Linked DNA regions of Homo sapiens: regions 2 and 3 are each linked to region 1. Evidence: promoter capture Hi-C in human tissues and cell types (Jung and others, 2019). All regions are on one chromosome and are shown on one strand. The core of a region is centred on a gene start or on the middle of the fragment in contact, and the rest is flanking DNA. Distances in the headings are between cores, read along the strand shown.

Region 1 (3,438 bases), core at 939-3,438:
CAGACAGAACAGCGGTGCTGAGGCAGCTCACCACCTGGGAGCCAGGGTCACAGGTCAGAGGAACCCCATGACCTGCCAGCCATCATGTCCCAATAACCCAGGCCTGAAGAAAGAGGCTTCCACGCAGTCTGTGGGGCTCCCCAAACACCTGACCTTTATGCTTTTACCTTTATCCTGGGGCCCTGAGCAGCCTTGAAACAACCCTTCCATAGATGGAACCAGGCTTGGCCCAGGGAGGGGCTGTCTCACCCCCTAATACCCCCTTAACCTCCCATTCCTGGGCTTGCTTGCTTTTTTTTTTTTTTTTTTTTTTTTTCGAGACAGACTCTCACTCTGCCACCAGGCTGGAGTGCAGTGGTGTGATCTTGGCTCACTGCAACCTCTGCCTCCTGGGTTCAAGCAATTCTCCTGCCTCAGCTTCCAGAGTAGCTGGGACTACCGGTGCGCGCCACCACACCCAGGTAATTTTTGTATTTTTAGTAGAGACGGGGTTTCACTGTTAGTCAGGATGGTCTCGATCTCCTGACCTCGTGATCCACCCGCCTCGGCCTCCCAGTGTGCTGGGATTATAGGCATAAGCCACCGTGCCTGGCCTAGGGCTTTCATGCCCCATACCCACACCCTATACCAGGACACCCCCTTCTCAGAAAAGCTCCATATTCCACATTTCTGTGATCAGCTGGACACCTGTGGGGGCACCCAAACTCCTTAGGCTCACATGGTGGGTGCCCTGGCATGGTGGGTGCCCTTGTATGGTGAGTGCCCTGGCATGGTAGGTGCCCTGGCCTGGTGGGTATCTGGACTCCCCAGCTGTGGCCAGCAGCCACCTCCTCCCCCTAACTCAGCCTAAGACTGGGAGCCAAGCACCAGCTGGGGGCAGAGACTGTGGGAAATTATAGGACAGCAAAATGAAGAGAGGGCCGGGGGCGGTGGCTCATGCTTGTAATCCCAGCACTTTGGAAGGCTGAAGTGGGCGGATCACCTGAGGTCAGAAGTTCGAGACCAGCCTGGCCAACATGGAGAAACCCCGTCTTTACTAAAAATACAAAAAATTACTTGGGCGTGGTGGCGGGTGCCTGTAATCCCAGCTACGTGGGAGGCTGAGGCAGGAGAATTGCTTGAACCCAGGAGGCGAAGGTTGCAGTGAACAGAGGCCGAACCACTGGACCCCAGCCTGGGTGACAGAGTGAGACTCCGTCTCAAAAAAAAAAAAAAAAAAAAAAAAAAAGAATGAGGAGAGACTGGGAACCTCGGGCTGGACAGGGCTCCCCTCCTCCCTTCCTGTCTGGCTTCTGCCCTCAGAGTCTCACCACCAAATGATGACAGAGAAGATCCCAGGTCTTGCCCAAGGTCTGGTTCCACAGCAGGTCAGCTCCGTCTGCCAGGAAGTAACCTGTGGGCATGGGGGTAGGGGTTAGGCTGCTCCAGAGCCCGGGCAGCTTAGAGAGGATTTCCAGCCCCCCCGCCCCGCCCCTCTCCCAGTTCTTAGTTTTCCCTTGGTAAAGCCTTCAGGAACGTTTAACCCCCATGGGGGCGGGGAATGGACCTGGAAGGACAGCAGAACCTGCCCCCCGCCCCATCCCCACCACCGGCCCAGCCTTCCCTGCAGACTCACCCACAGACACAGCCACCAGCACCAGAGCCCAGCGCGGGTGGCCATGGATGGGGTCGGCGGCCATCTGAGGGTACAGTGACAGGCTGGGGGCATGGGGTGGGGACATGGGGGGGGGCATGGTCAGCCTCTCGAGGCCCCGGCCGCAGTCTCCCTGTGCGCACCCCCACCCCAGTCTCAGCTCTGGAGACGCCCGGCGGGTCTCCCGGCCTCAGCCTCCCACCCCTCGCCCTCGCCCCGTGCGCCTCGAGCCCCCAAGCCCGCACCCGAGCAGCGCCCCGGTCCCCGAGAGCAGGCTGTGCGCCAGGGAGACGCAGAGGTTCCACCACTGCCAGCGGTCCCGAGCGGCCGATTCCGGCGTGGGCAGCCGCCGCAACCCCCAGTGCAGCCCCCGGAACGCGAGGAAGGAGGCGCCGGCCACCAGGAGCCCCGTGGGCGCCATGGCCTGGCGGTTGGGGGGTTGCGGGGAGTCCGGGTCGGTCCCCTCGGCGCCCGCGCTCTCGGCCGGGACTGGGAACCCGTTTCCCGGCAGGGCTGGGGCCCCGGCTCCCCTCCCCGCCGCGCCTTTGGGATCAGCAGGAACTTTTCCCCGTTCGTCCACGCCCAGTCCCTCGCCTGGGCGGTGATTGGAGCAGCCGCGGGGCCGCCGCCCCCGGAGCCTTGGCCACCGATTGCGTCTTGCTCCAGCCGGGGGAGCGGTTCGGGGGCTCCGGGCAGTAGACCATGCCCTGGAGCTCGGGGGGCCTCCGGGATGTTCGCCAATAGGGGTCCTCCCCAGCTCCAAGCGTCCTGAAGCGCTGGAGTTGCAGACCTGGGTCTCCAGTCTAACCTCAACTGACACTCCCGGGCCCCACCCACGAACCTTGACCTCTTCCCGGCTCCCGCGACTTTCACCTGCTGAGCGTCATCACCACCCACCGCCACACCCTGCAAGGCAGAGGCTAGCGCAGCCCACTCGTACCTGCCCGAGCCTGGCCGCCGCCCCCACTTCCCTCCCCGCGTCCGTGGTGGGGACGGGGTGCCCCACTTTCTTGGAGCCACCCCTTCGGCCTCCTGAGGTTTCCACGCCTTTACCATATCCCGGCAAACCTGTAATTCCAGCAGTTCTGCTCCCCCTCCCCCACAACCCCCAGGAGACCCCATGTTGGAGAAGCGACCCACTGGGCCCCGCCCCGACCCCCAGCATTGTTTTCGGCCCTACGGAGGAGCCTCATTAGGAAGAGGACGCAAAAGGGAATCGCTGGCCCCCAGTCTTGAAAAGCACTTCCTTCCCCAAGGGCTTGGTACCCGTTGGGTGGGTAGAATATCTTCAATCCGAGGGCAAGGAAAGGTAACACAGGGTCCCTTCAAGGCTGGGACAGAGTCAGAAGAGAAAAACAGACCTGTCCTGCTCTTAGTAGCAGGGCGGTTAGGATTCCAGAACCCTCCAGCCTTAAGAGGAAGAGCCTCCCCCAGCCCCTCACCACCTGAAGAGCCCCAGGTTGCACTGCTTTCCTTCCACCTTACTCCACTCCACCTCTTCAGCTGGCAGACAGTCAGCAAGTCAGAGCTGTTTCCTGCAGGCTGAGAGGGAGGATTCCAGCTACTTCAAAGAATTAAGTTCATAAACCAAGAGGTGCCCCAACCAAACCTTCTCACCAAAAAGCTGAGGTCTTCCCTTCATTCTTCTACCCCCACCTCTCCAAAGGTTTAAATAATAACACTGATCTCTTAAATTATATTATATGAAATACAAAATGTGGAAAATTTGGAAATTACAGAAAAACCAAAGATGAAAATTACAGTGACTTTGTTCCACCATACAAAGATAACCACTCAACATTTTT
Region 2 (3,438 bases), core at 608-3,107, 210 kb before region 1:
TGGGTTTAGAGGTGTGACCCATCACGCCTGGCCTTTTTTTTTTTTTTTTGAGACGAAGTCTCGCTCTGTCACTCAGGCTGGAGTGCAGTGGCGTGATCTCGGCTCACTGCAACCTCCGCCTCCTGGGTTCACGCCATTCTCCTGCCTCAGCCTCCCGAGTAGCTGGGACTACAGGTGCCCGCCACCATGCCCGGCTAATTTTTTTTTATTTTTAGTAGAGACGGGGTTTCACCGTGTTCACCAGGATGGTCTCGATCTCCTGACCTCGTGATCCACCCGCCTGGCCTCCCAAAGTGCTGGGATTTCAGGCGTGAGCCACCGCACCCGGCCACACCAGGCCTTTTAAAAAAATTTTGCAGGGGGAGGGTTCTCACTCTGATGGTGAAACCTCATCTCTACTAAAAATACAAAAAATTAGCCAGGCATGGTGGCGGGTGCCTGTAATCCTAGCTATTCAGGAGGCTGAGGCAGGCGAGAATCACTTGAGCCCAGGAGGCGGACGTTGCAGTGAGCCAAGATCATGCCATTGCACTCCAGCCTGGGTGACAAGAAGAAAACTCTGTCTCGAAAAAAATAAAACACTTTGTCTGGGCTCACAGTGGCAACTATAACAAAACTCCAGTGTAACCCCGGACTTTAGCAGGATTCCCGCCCTGCCCTCAGCCCTTTTGCCCTCCCTATAAGGGAGCTGGCCTCGTTTCTCATTACATCTTGGCTCAGGGACACCGTAGTGGCTGGCCCAGCACACTAACGCTCACAGTCACTTCATCAAACCGGCCCCCTCCAGGTTCCTCTCGTCAGTGTGCTGACTGATTGGAAAGCCCGCCTTTCTGCTTTCTGCGAAACTCTGTGCCTCCTTCAAGATACTGTCCTTGACAGGAAGTCTGACAGGCCTCTCCTAGCTTTAGCTGTTCACCTCCTTAACATTTGCTCCAACCTTCTGCACGGAGTTCTGGAAACCTTCTATTGACTAACTCCCAGGCTTGGTAACATATGCCAGGTACTGTGCTACTCCCAGGGATGGTCCTAAATCAGATCGTCTCTGCTCTCTGGGCAATCACAGTACAGTAAGAAAGGTACGCTGTGTCTCAAAAGCAACACTGAAAGCATGGCATGCGCAAGGCTGGGGGTGGCACAAGGCAGGAGAGGAACTCTCAGTGAGATGAGGAGGGGCCGGGAAGGCGTCCTAGGAGAAGTGATGTCTCAACTGGGTTTCCAAGGATAAAATAACAGTGTCATTAGACAGGAATATCTGTTCCCCAGGTGGGCTCAGGCCCTGCTCACTGCAAAACTCCCAGCTGCCCCTGGATCCTGGCCCCAGCCAGGAGTATTTCAGTTACCATGTCCCCTGTTCCCGCCCAGACAGTCTTGCATTTCCTGGGCTCCAGCCAAAGGGAAGCAGTACCGAAGGCTCATGAGTCTACAGACACAGATATGAGTTCCAATCCTCGTGCGATGAAGAAGCCTGTTACTCCTTACTTATATATTCTTTGAGACTCAGTTGCTTTCCTTGTAAACAGGCAATAATAACACTGTTTACCTAACGAGGACATGGTAGGAACTGATACAGGCAAAGCCTTGGCGCACACCTGCACGCCAATCACAATGAGCTGTTATTTGGAAATAGGTGCGTGCCTCCTCCTTAGCGGGAGTCTGCCTTCCTCACCGTGCCATCCTTTTTCCTCTTGCTGGCAAGGATGACCATGAATCCTGAGGTACGATGGGCTTGAGGAAAGTACTGTGGGCTACAGACTCAGAGATCAGTCTCAGCCCCAGCTCTGCCACTCACTGGCTGAGCTACCTGGGGAAGCCCTTGAACTTCTCCAAAGCTCTCTACCCTTTCTGACCCTGCCAACTCCAGCCCAGATCCAGCTTTTGCAACAAACTTCAGTCTCCTGGAGGTCTCTCTGCCATAGGGCTGGGAGAAGGGGACGCCTGGCCGTAGGGCCTGCCAGCAGCTCTCTTCCTGCTGGTAAGTTTTTAAAGAGGATTTTTTTTTTTGGAGACAGGGTTGCCCAGCTGGAGTGCAGTGAGTCAATCTCAGCTCACTGCAGCCTTTAACTCCTGGGCTCAAGTGATCCTCCTGCCTCAGCTTTCCTGAGTAGCTGGGACTACAGGCACATGCCACTACACCCAGCTAATTTTTAAATTTTCGTAGAGACGGGGTCTAACTATGTTGCCCAGGCAGGTCTTGAACTCCTGGCTTCAAGCACCCCCTCCCCACCCAAGGCCCTACCCTGTCCTTACAGCTCCCACCAGGACTCTTGTTTCCAATGGATGGCTGCAGAGACTGGCAGTCTCCCTGCAGCTGTTGATCTGGGCCGGCCATCCTGCTGCAGCCTGGCCTCTTACCTCCTTTCCTGCCTGCTCTGTTGCCCAGGGCGGGTCCCTTCCCCAGCGTCCACTGCCTCCTCTTCTGTGGACGGCCCTGCTCACGACCCTACCCTGTCTTGCTCCACACTGCTGAATCGGCTCACTCTTTCCCCCTTTCCTTGACAAGGATATTTTGGCTTTGCTGTAACACTTCCAGAACCAAGCTTGAGTTCTACCTCTTGTCTTGGTCTGGCTGTGGAGATATTTCTTCCCTGGCTAAATCCCAAAGCCCTGGGCTGCCCTGCCGGTACCTCCCGCCTCCCTCACAGAGACACTCCAGCTAGGAGGAATGAACAAGCTGCTCCCGCTGGAACAAAGACCCTCATGACATGTAAGGGGCTCTTCTTTTCTTCAAAGAGATTAGGTTCCTTGCCCCAAAATGAGTCAGGGACATGTTGCCAGTGGTTCTTTCTCAGGTTTTGGTGGTTATTTGGCCCCTTCTCAGCTTCTTAGAAAGGTTTTTAGTAAATCTATCACGGGAAGACATGAATCTATTTATTTTATTATTATTTTTTTGAGACGGAGTCTCGCTCTGTCACCCAGGCTGGAGTGCAGCGGTGAGATCTCGGCTCACGGCAACCTCTGCCTCTTGGGTTCAAGCAATTCTCCTGCCTCAGCTTCCTGAGTAGCTGGGATTACAGGTGCGCGCTACCATGCCCAGCTAATTTTTGAATTTTTAGTAGAGATGGGGTTTTACCATGTTGGTCAGGCTGGTCTCAAACTCCTGACCTTCAGTGATCCACCTGCCTCGGCCCTCCCAAAGTGCTGGGATTACAGGTGTGAGCCACCGCGCCCAGCCGGCATGAATCGAAAAGTCACAATAGCCGTTCTCTCCCATGGTTACTGGGTGACGGCCTCCTTCAGTCCTCAGCCTCATGAGGTGTGTGCTCTTCTCATCCACACCTTATAGCTGACAAAATCAAGGCCTAAACGCTTTGGCTAAAATAAGACAGAGCCGTGCTTCTAACTACCAGACTCATGATCTCTACACTGATCCTGATGAAACTCTCTACCTACTACTTCACCTTCTCACACAAGACCTGACCCATTCACAGGCTGGGGCAG
Region 3 (3,438 bases), core at 481-2,980, 190 kb after region 1:
AGTTTAAATTAAAAATGGTAGCATAGTAAGCATATCATTTTGTAATGATTTTCTCCTAGGATGGGCATCTTTATTTTGATAAAAATTGCATCAGAACCACCATTAGGCCAGGTGCAGTGGCTCACACCTATAATCCCACACTTTGGGAGGCCAAGGCAGGTGGATCACTTGTGATCAGGAGTTCAAGAGCAGCCTGGCCAACATGGTGAAACCACATCTCTACTAAAAACACAAAAATTAGCCGGGTGTGGTGGCTCACCCCTGTAATCCCAGCTGCCCGGGAGGCTGAAGCAAGAGAGTCCCTCCCCGTGAGGCAGAGGCTGCAGTGAGCCAAGATCACACCATGGCACTCCAGCCTGAGCGACTGAGGGAGACTCCATCTCAAAACAAAAAAATCACAAACATAATTAAAAGATTTACTAATCATTAATAGCTTTAGATAAATAATTTTAAGTGGTGTTTGGCTCTTTGGATGTGTTTTCAGCCAATTCACTCTTGCAGGATGCTTATACTTTTTCTAATTGTTATAAATTCAAGATTTCACGAGCAGAAGCGTTTATGCTTTGTGGCACTGACAATCCATGCCTTTTCTTGTTCTGTTAGGTTCTCTCATTGATTTTTCTTTGCCTAAGTCCAGGGATAACTCCTCTAACCCTGTGTACCACCAAGGGCTGGTAGGTAATTTGAGCAGGTCCTTCCTTGGAAGCAGGTAGATTAATGTAGGGAGGGGAGGGAAAAAGAAGGCTTTGGAGCCCTGGTTTCATCCTGCCTACTACACAGACGGGGGCTGTGCCTATGAAGAGGCGAAACTCTTGTTTCCCACCACCCTGGCAAAGAAGGCCTCTTGAGAATACATTTGACTTGCCTATAAATCAACCTGATTATCTAAAGCTATTAATGATTATTAAGTCTTGTAATTATATTTGTAATGATGGTTTTGAAAAGTCATTGAGAAAAGTATGTAGCCACTCGTCTTCATGGTTCCAGCCTGTCAGTATGTGACTTTATTTTTTGAGATGGAGTCTCTGTCGCCCAGGCTGGAGTGCAGTGGTGCGATCTCGGCTCACTGCAACCACCACCTCCTGGGTTTAAGTGATTCTCCTGCCTCAGCCTCTTGAGTAGCTGGGACTACTGCACGCCCAGCTGATTTTTTGGGGTCTTTTTGTTTGTTTGTTTGTTTGTTTTTTAGACGGAGTTTCACTCTTACCCAGGCTAGAGTGCAGTGGCACAATCTCGGCTCACTGCAACCTCTGCCTCCCAAGTTCAAGCAATCCTCCTGCCTCAGCCTCCCAAATAGCTGGGACTACAGGCGCCCGCCACCATGCCCAGCTTATTTTTTGTATTTTTAGTAGAGACGGGGTTTCACCGTGTTAGCCAGGATGGTCTCAATCTCCTGATCTCGTGATCTGCCCGCCTCTGCCTCCCAAAGTGCTGGGATTACAGGCGTGAGCCACCACGCCCAGCCTTAGTATGTGACTTTTTTTTTTTTTTTTTTTTTTTTTGAGATGGAGTTTCGCTCTTGTTGCCCAGGCTGGAGTGCAATGGCGTGATCTTGGCTCACTGCAAACTCTGCCTCCCAGGTTCAAGCAATTCTCCTGCCTCAGGCTCCCGAGTAGCTGGGATTTACAGGTATATGCCACCGCGCCCAGCTAATTTTCTATTTTTAGTAGAGACCATGTTGGTCAGGCTGGTCTCAAACTCTCGACCTCAGGTGATCCGCCCACCTTGGTCTCCCAAGGTGCTGGGATTACAGGCGTGAGCCACCGCGCCCAGCCAGTGTGTGACTTAAAGATATCTGTCCCTGAGAGCTATGGACTATTTAGAGCAAGGCTTGGGGGCTAAGTAGTCATATCACAGTGATATTAAAATGCAGTTGAGGGGGAAATTGCTGGAAGACTGGAGTCAATCAGGAAAGACTTCACAAAGAATTGGGTGATTTGAGACTCACTGATTAGAGCCTTCATTTAGGTCGGGGCTGTCCGGTCTGTATGAGGCAGACCGAGAGCAACACTGGTAACAGTGGCATGCGCTGTGTTCGTCACTGACACGAAGCCACGCGGTGCCACGGAGGCTGGGTAGAGGTACTGAACGGAAATGGGTTCCTGGTGCAAATAGGACAGTGTTTGACTATGGGCTGAGTGAAAGTTTCTTTTTTTTTTTTTTAATTTTTTATTTTTTTGAGATGGAGTCTCTCTCTGTTGCCCAGGCTGGAGTGCAATGGCACGATCTCGGCTCACTGCAACCTCCACCTCCCAGGTTCAAGCGATTCTTCTGCCTCAGCCTCCCGAGTAGCTGGGATTATACAGGCGTGTGTCACCACATCTGGATAATTTCTGTATTTCTAGTAGAGACAGGGTTTCACCATGTTGGCCAGGCTAATCTCGAACTCCCGACCTCAGGTGATCCGGCCTCCTCGGCCTCCCAAAGTGCTGGGATTACGGGCGTGAGACACTGTGCCCGGCCAGTAAGAGGTTCTTGTGTTATCCATTGCCATACCCCTAACCTGCATTGGGTTTGTCGTGACAGTGTCTGACTTGCCAGTGAGCTCGTGGGTGTTTGTGAGAGGCTTTGAACCAGCCACCTGGCTGCATTTGCAGCTTCTCAGGCTCTTAGTAGCTGTCGCTTTACACCCTCTCCTTAGCTGTTGATGAGTCTCAAAATGTATACTTTTCAATAAAACAAATCTTTTTTTCAGCCTTGAATAGACCCTGTGAAAAACTGAATCCCACCTGCCTCGTGAGAAATATTTATATAGCCAACTCAGAAGTGATCGTGTAAACTTTTAATAATTGCGAGCCGTTCTTATAAAATTATGCCCGTTCCCTAGTGCATTACCCAGTTGGTAATTGGAAGTTTGTGCTGTCATTAAAAATGACAGCTTCCTCAGATAACATTCTCGGTGCTTGTAAAATGCAAATAACCAAACCTATATTTAACTTATGTGTGTTGCAGCTTCCTTTCAACGGCCAGGTAACCTAGGGGGCTGGTGCCTGTTAAAGAGGAGGGCTTGCCGCGGGGAACTGCAGCTTTGTGCTCTTCAATGCCCAGCCCTGAAATGGAGTTAGAACAGGCAGGACTTTTTAAAAATAAGCCCCAGTTGGACTCTCATCTCCTCTCACCGTTGACACTGCTGTTCATGTTGAAGTTTATTTATATCTTCAGTCAGCCATGGTACAGAGGTCATTTCCATTGGCCTAAAATTTTAGAGGCTTATATGTTTGCCTGGGAAAGCTGATCTCCTCAGCACTTAGGCTTGTAATGCAAAGCCTGTCTCTTGCAGAAGCTTTTCTGCTTCCATAACACGGCGACTCCCACCGTCACCACCACCACCAATTTCCTGCTCCACGATTTATTCAAAATCTGAATAGCTGTATAAGGTGCATCCCTGCAAATGAGCTCTCCTCCTCTAATGGGCTCTTTCCAGGCAGCAAACCTTTC

What was found. The method cuts DNA at HindIII sites, captures the fragments that hold promoters and counts their contacts. A contact is called where the count stands out against the background at its distance.
Region 2: a fragment that was not itself captured here is called in contact with the fragment with the promoter of TLCD2 in region 1 in 1 of the 25 tissues and cell types used here (dorsolateral prefrontal cortex).
Region 3: a fragment that was not itself captured here is called in contact with the fragment with the promoter of TLCD2 in region 1 in 1 of the 25 tissues and cell types used here (lymphoblastoid cells).

The regions. Positions count from the first base shown.
Region 1 is chr17:1,708,189-1,711,626 of GRCh38, forward strand. TLCD2 (TLC domain containing 2) reads right to left here and starts at 2,189. Exons shown (of 4, transcript NM_001164407.2): 1 at 1,879-2,189; 2 at 1,616-1,698; 3 at 1,311-1,393; 4 at 1-34. The coding sequence starts at 2,054. MIR22HG (MIR22 host gene) reads right to left here. Exons shown (of 3, transcript NR_028505.2): 3 at 3,316-3,438. The HindIII fragment of the contact is 13,317 bases long and covers 1-3,438 here.
Region 2 is chr17:1,503,153-1,506,590 of GRCh38, forward strand. The region is part of intron 7 of INPP5K (inositol polyphosphate-5-phosphatase K); the gene reads right to left. Among named protein-coding and RNA genes, the nearest start is that of INPP5K, 12 kb to the right of the region's middle. The HindIII fragment of the contact is 5,924 bases long and covers 1-3,438 here.
Region 3 is chr17:1,901,535-1,904,972 of GRCh38, forward strand. No RefSeq gene overlaps it. Among named protein-coding and RNA genes, the nearest start is that of RPA1, 73 kb to the left of the region's middle. RefSeq lists enhancers at 2,635-2,684, 2,765-2,814. The HindIII fragment of the contact is 8,308 bases long and covers 1-3,438 here.